2 separate regions of the Homo sapiens genome follow, and region 1 is linked to region 2. The links are contacts of gene promoters, found by promoter capture Hi-C in human tissues and cell types (Jung and others, 2019). All regions are on one chromosome and are shown on one strand. The core of a region is centred on a gene start or on the middle of the fragment in contact, and the rest is flanking DNA. Distances in the headings are between cores, read along the strand shown. Region 1 holds the start of ADCYAP1 (adenylate cyclase activating polypeptide 1). Region 2 overlaps METTL4 (methyltransferase 4, N6-adenosine).

The links. Contacts are between HindIII fragments. The study calls those that stand out against the background at their distance.
Region 1: the fragment with the promoter of ADCYAP1 here is called in contact with a fragment that was not itself captured in region 2 in 1 of the 25 tissues and cell types used here (dorsolateral prefrontal cortex).

The regions. Positions count from the first base shown.
Region 1 is chr18:903,603-906,302 of GRCh38, forward strand. It overlaps ADCYAP1 (adenylate cyclase activating polypeptide 1), which reads left to right and starts at 1,269. Exons shown (of 5, transcript NM_001099733.2): 1 at 1,269-1,458; 2 at 1,784-1,894. The coding sequence starts at 1,785. It overlaps LOC124904340 (a long non-coding RNA gene), which reads right to left. Exons shown (of 2, transcript XR_007066435.1): 1 at 1,480-2,700; 2 at 1-746. The HindIII fragment of the contact is 12,558 bases long and covers 1-2,700 here.
Region 2 is chr18:2,557,129-2,559,828 of GRCh38, forward strand. The region is part of intron 3 of METTL4 (methyltransferase 4, N6-adenosine); the gene reads right to left. Among named protein-coding and RNA genes, the nearest start is that of METTL4, 13 kb to the right of the region's middle. The HindIII fragment of the contact is 4,977 bases long and covers 1-2,700 here.

The DNA.
Region 1 (2,700 bases), core at 19-2,518, 1.7 Mb before region 2:
CATTCTCAGCATTAGGGCATTTATGGACGCTACAAGAGGGAAAGGATGTATCTGAACGGTGGGGGTGATTTAGGCGATGAATCGCCACGTTAATAGCACTACTGCCAAATCTTCAAATTTAGAGGCTCTGGTGAAAAATTAAACCGGTGGCAATTTTCAACGTTTGTAGCATCTGTTACCCTACACTTCAGCACCCGGAGTCTGGACAGCTCCGCAGGCCGCGCTCCGGAGGCAGCATGAGCTCTCATCAATCTACTCATAGCCCTACTGTCAACGGCAGCCAGACTCAGGAGAGATTTACTGAAAATCCTCCAAGACTTCCCTTTAAAAACAAAACGACTTCCACATTTAATGGTCTATCTGAAAGAACATACGCAAGAAATTAGGAGATCTAAATTAAATTTATTAATAGGAGAGCTTGATGATGCTTAATTCCAGAGACCAGAGCTCTGATTGGTGAGGCTTGATGAAAAAGTAAAGAGAAATCGTAATTATATAGTTAAAAACATAACTTTTGTCATCCTCAAAATTCTAAAAATTCTTTACCTGTCCTTGAGAAACGGGTGAAATTGAAAACCATCAAAACAATTGGACTTCTTAAAAATTGGATTGTATGAGTGAAAGGTGTTTATGAGAAGTCGATGACTCCGGATCTTATCATCCAAGAGGACAGCACAGAATAGTTAATATGTTCCTTGAGGGACTAGGATGCTGACGTCTTTTTCTGATACCCGATCATTACGTGACTGAGAAAAAAAAAAAGGAAGTCATTTCATGAATAAAAATCGGAGCGCAACAGTGCAACAAAATATTCTGTACTTAAAGGCAACAGGCAGGCAGATGTTGACAAAGAGGGCTCTCCAAAAACCATGTTCGGATAGATTTTTGCGAACTGCACAGATAAATAGGAGCAGAAGGCCGGTCACCTCTGTAACCAGCGGTAGCAGCAGCAGAAGCCGCAGCTTCAGAGGCAGCCGGAGAGACCTCGGAGCAGAGAAGGCGCCGCCGACCCTCGCGGCTGCCTGGCCCGCGGCTCCTACAAAGGCGGGCTAGCCGCCCGCCCTCTCCCTTGCCTTCCTCCCCTTCTTTTCTGACTTTCCCTCTTTCCCTTAATCGCCTGCTTCTTCCTCCGGGTGGACTTACGGCCACCTTGCTCCTCCGCGCTTCACCTCATCGCCCCCTCTTTCTTTCTTCTGCCTCTCTCTCTGCGCCCCCTTCTCTCCGTGTCACGCTCCCTCCTGGTTCTGCGCGTCTACAAACTTTTGAGCAGAACACGAGCCTCGGCAAACGAGTCCCGCAGCTCCTCCTGCTGCTCCCGCTGGTTCCTGCGGCTTCTGCTCAGACACCAACGCCAGACGGCGATGCCTCTCGGGTGGTGACTCCAGCGCAGGAACTTGAAGAAGCGCTTTGCCCGCCGTCCTACCTGGCAGCTCTCCTGGCAGCGGGAGGAGTTGAAGGGTAAGGGAGGGAAAATCTTACCAAAGCGACCGGCTCACTCGACTGCTGATTCTTTCGCTTGGCATCGCGTCAGGGGAGTTAGCTTTCCTTCAGCCGGGTCTGGCTAGTTATTGGGCGCCGGGTAGATGCATATATATATATTTTTTTCTAACTATAGCAAGCAAGAAGTGGCAGGGCGCGCACCGGCTGTCGCCAAGTGCTGTTCAACTCAGGGAGCCGGGGCTTCGCTCCGTCCCTCCCCCGGCTTCCAGAGCTTTTTGGGGTTGGAGGGTGGGAGGCCAGGGGCGTTCTCACAGCTGTGTGTCCTCTTTCCCATCCTGCGCAGAATGACCATGTGTAGCGGAGCGAGGCTGGCCCTGCTGGTCTATGGGATAATCATGCACAGCAGCGTCTACAGCTCACCTGCCGCCGCCGGACTCCGGTTCCCCGGGATCAGGTAGGTGCTGGCTGCCTGGCCCAAGCAGGAGCTGGGGCTTCCCAGGCACAGACGCTTCCTCACGGTCTCCTTCCTGCAGTCCTTTGGGTCCAGACTACTAGCATCGCCCTCTGCGCCCCCGGTGCGCCTCCGCCAGCCTCGGCTGGACAGCGGGTCCCCATTCTAGCCGAGGGTCTGGCAGGCTCCGCGACTGCTCGGACGCCTCCCCCAGCCCTAGGCAGCTCAGGGTCCCGGGTAGAGCCAGTGAGCTTCTGGCCGCTGGAGAACCCCCCCTCCCCCAACCCGGCCCACAGGATGGGGGCAGGGCACGGCCCCTAGCTTGGTTTCTTTTACCTATTCTTGGGACGAGTTAGGAGAACTTCAGCTCTGGAGCCTGGCCGGGGGTTGAGCGTGAAGCTCCCTCGGACTTTGCTTTGTTACTGCTTGTTCTGGACTATCCGGGTGGGGTCTCTCTCTCTCCTCCACCCTTTCTTTTCATTTCATTCCAATTCTTTCCCCTGAAGAGCTTTCTTTCAAGTGATCCGTGTTCCAACTGCATTTTGAATCCCAGGCTGTCTTGGGGGGCGTGCGGTGGGGAGGGTGTTGGCCCGGTGTGATTGAGGAAAAGCGACTTAAGAGAGGGAAGAACAAGGACGAGACTGCGAAGGAGGGGGAAAAACAGGCGCAAAGGAGGAGGAAGGGAAAGCCAGCAGGCAGGCAGGACCGGGAGAGCAGCCCTGCCTGGCCCGGGATGGAGGAACCTTGGCTTTTTTCTTAACCCCGGGTTTCTAACCGGCAGGCGCGGCCCAGGTTCCCGGAGGCAGCCC
Region 2 (2,700 bases), core at 9-2,508:
GAGATGGAACTGAGAGTACAGTTAACAGTTCACAGGACAGAATATCAGAGAGGAAAGGGCTCCACAGAGAGAGAACTCAGGAAATCTGCAGGTAGGCACACTAGAGAAATTTACCTATGTACTGATCAGTACAAGTGTGTGAAGGAACTATCAGAAGCTGGGAAAATGAGTACCCCAAAAATTTAAAAAATAAAAATAAAAAAAGTATCTGATGCTCCCTAGGGCCAAGAATAGTGCCTGTTTCCACCACTCAGATGGGAACACCTCATGATTCACAGGGCAACTGGGAGACAATTCATCCTGAGTCTCTGAGCAGAGGCACTGACAGCTTTTGTTCCAGAAAAAATTTCCAAGGATATGTATACAACATGGAAGATGGAGTAGTGTCTCCCCAAGGCAGAGGATAGACTTGTATGCTGTCCAGGTTAATAAAGTCTCCCTCTGGGGCAAAAGGTCAGACAGGTTTGTTTGCAACCCACTTAAAAGATGAGAGTTCCCTAAGCTTGGGATCCTTAGCTGTGAATCAAAGAATTGCTGCATGCATAGGAAACCCACTGCATGCACAGCATCTAACTATGTTGATTGCCACTGTCCTCATGTGACATGGGGTGCAAAGGGAGCCTGTGAGCATAAAGCACATGCTGTGCCAGGAGCAGTAAAATCCTTTGTCCCTGACCTAGGAGTCTCCTATCTTCTGCTAGCATCCATGAAACTAAAGCAAGCTAATTTGTTAGCTTCCAAATAGGGTAAAATTTCAGACACTTCACAGTTCTTGACAGGGGTACTGGGTAATTAGACCGATCTTGCATCAGTATAGGGGCATAATTAGCCTTAAACACTATTCTAAACCAACCCAAAAAAATCTACCCAGCAAGTGAGAAATTAATGCAAAAATCTCTAAAGACACAGAAGTTCTGAAAAACACTATCAACTAACTTTATCTGACATTCATAGAACACTGCCTCTAACACTGCATCTGACATTCATAGAACACTGCATCTAACAATTTTTGGAAAGAATATGTATAGACAATACATATTCTTCCCAAAAGCATATAATACAGGCACAAAGATAACTCGTATGCTGGGCCATAAAACAAGGTTCTAGAAATGTAAAAGGACTGAAATCCCAAGCGTATGTTCTATACCCCATTGGATTTAAGTTAGAAATCAAGAACAAGAAGACACTGAGATAAACTCATTACCTGGAAATGAAATAGAACACTTCTAAATAATTCATATAGGTCAAAGATGAAATAATAAGGAAAATCAGAAAATAACTTTTTATTGAATCAAAATGAAAATACAAAATATCAAAATACGTGGAAGGCAACCAAAGCAGTGATTTAGAGGGAAACTTACAGCTTTAAGTGCTTAAGTTAGAAAAGAAAAAAAGATGTAAGTTAACCGACATAACATTCCACTTTAAGAAAATACCCAAGAAAATTAAAAATTAAAAAAGTTAGAAAAAGAAGAGCAAAGTAAACCAAAAGAAATAATAAAAAAAAACACAGAAGTCAATAAAATGGAAAACACAGAGACAGTAAGGAAAATTAACTAAATTAAAAGCTTGTTCTTTGAATATTTGTAAATCATATATCTGATAGGGGGTTAATATCCAGAATATACAAAGAACTTCTAAAACTCAACAAGAAAAAAAACAAACAGCCCAGAAGATGAACAAAGGATACAAACAGACATTTCTCTCAAGAAAATATACAAATGGCCAACAAGCACATAAAAAGATGCTCAACATTACTAACCATTAGGTAAATACAAATCAAAACCACAATGAGATACTACTCCACACCTACTAGGATAGCTATTATCAAAAACAAAAGTGTCGGCAAGGATGTGGAGAAACTGGAGCCCTTGGGTATTGCTGGTAGGAATGTAAAATGATAGAACCACTGTGGAAGGCAGTATGGTGGTTCCTCCAAAAATTAATCACAGAATTACGATAAAATCCAGCAATTCCACTTCTGGGTATATATCCAAAAGAACTAAAAGCAAGAACTGGAATAGATATTTGTACACCTGTCTTCAGAGAAGCATTATTCACAACAGCCAAAAGGTAGAAACTACGCAAAAGTCCATAAACAAATGGATAAACAAAATGTAATATTTACATAAAATGGAATATTTTTCAGCCTTAAAAAGGAAAGAAATTCTGATATATGCTACATGGATGAACCTTGAAGACATAGTGAAATAAGCCAGATGCAAAAGGGCAAGTATTATGTGATTTAACTTACATGAGGTATAGGCAAATTCACAGAGACAGAAAGTAGAATACTAGTTACCAGGCAGCAGGGGAAGGGGGAGTGGGGAGTTACTATTTAATGTGTAGTTTCAGTTTGGATGTGGTAATGATGGCATGACACTCTGAATGTACTTAGTGCCACTAAATTGTACATCTAAAAATGGTTAAAACAGTAAATTTTATGATACGTATATTTTACCTATTTAAAAAAACCACAAATTACTAATAAAAGCAATGAAAAAGTTATCATCACCACAGATCCTACAGACATTAAAAGAAAGCATAAGATAACATGACTTCATGCTAACAAATTTGACAACTAGGATGAAATGAACACATTTCTGTTTTTTGTTTTTTATTTTTTCGAGAGGGAGTCTCTCTGTCACCCAGGCTAGAATGGAGTGGCATGATCTCGGCTTACCGCAACCTCCACCTCCC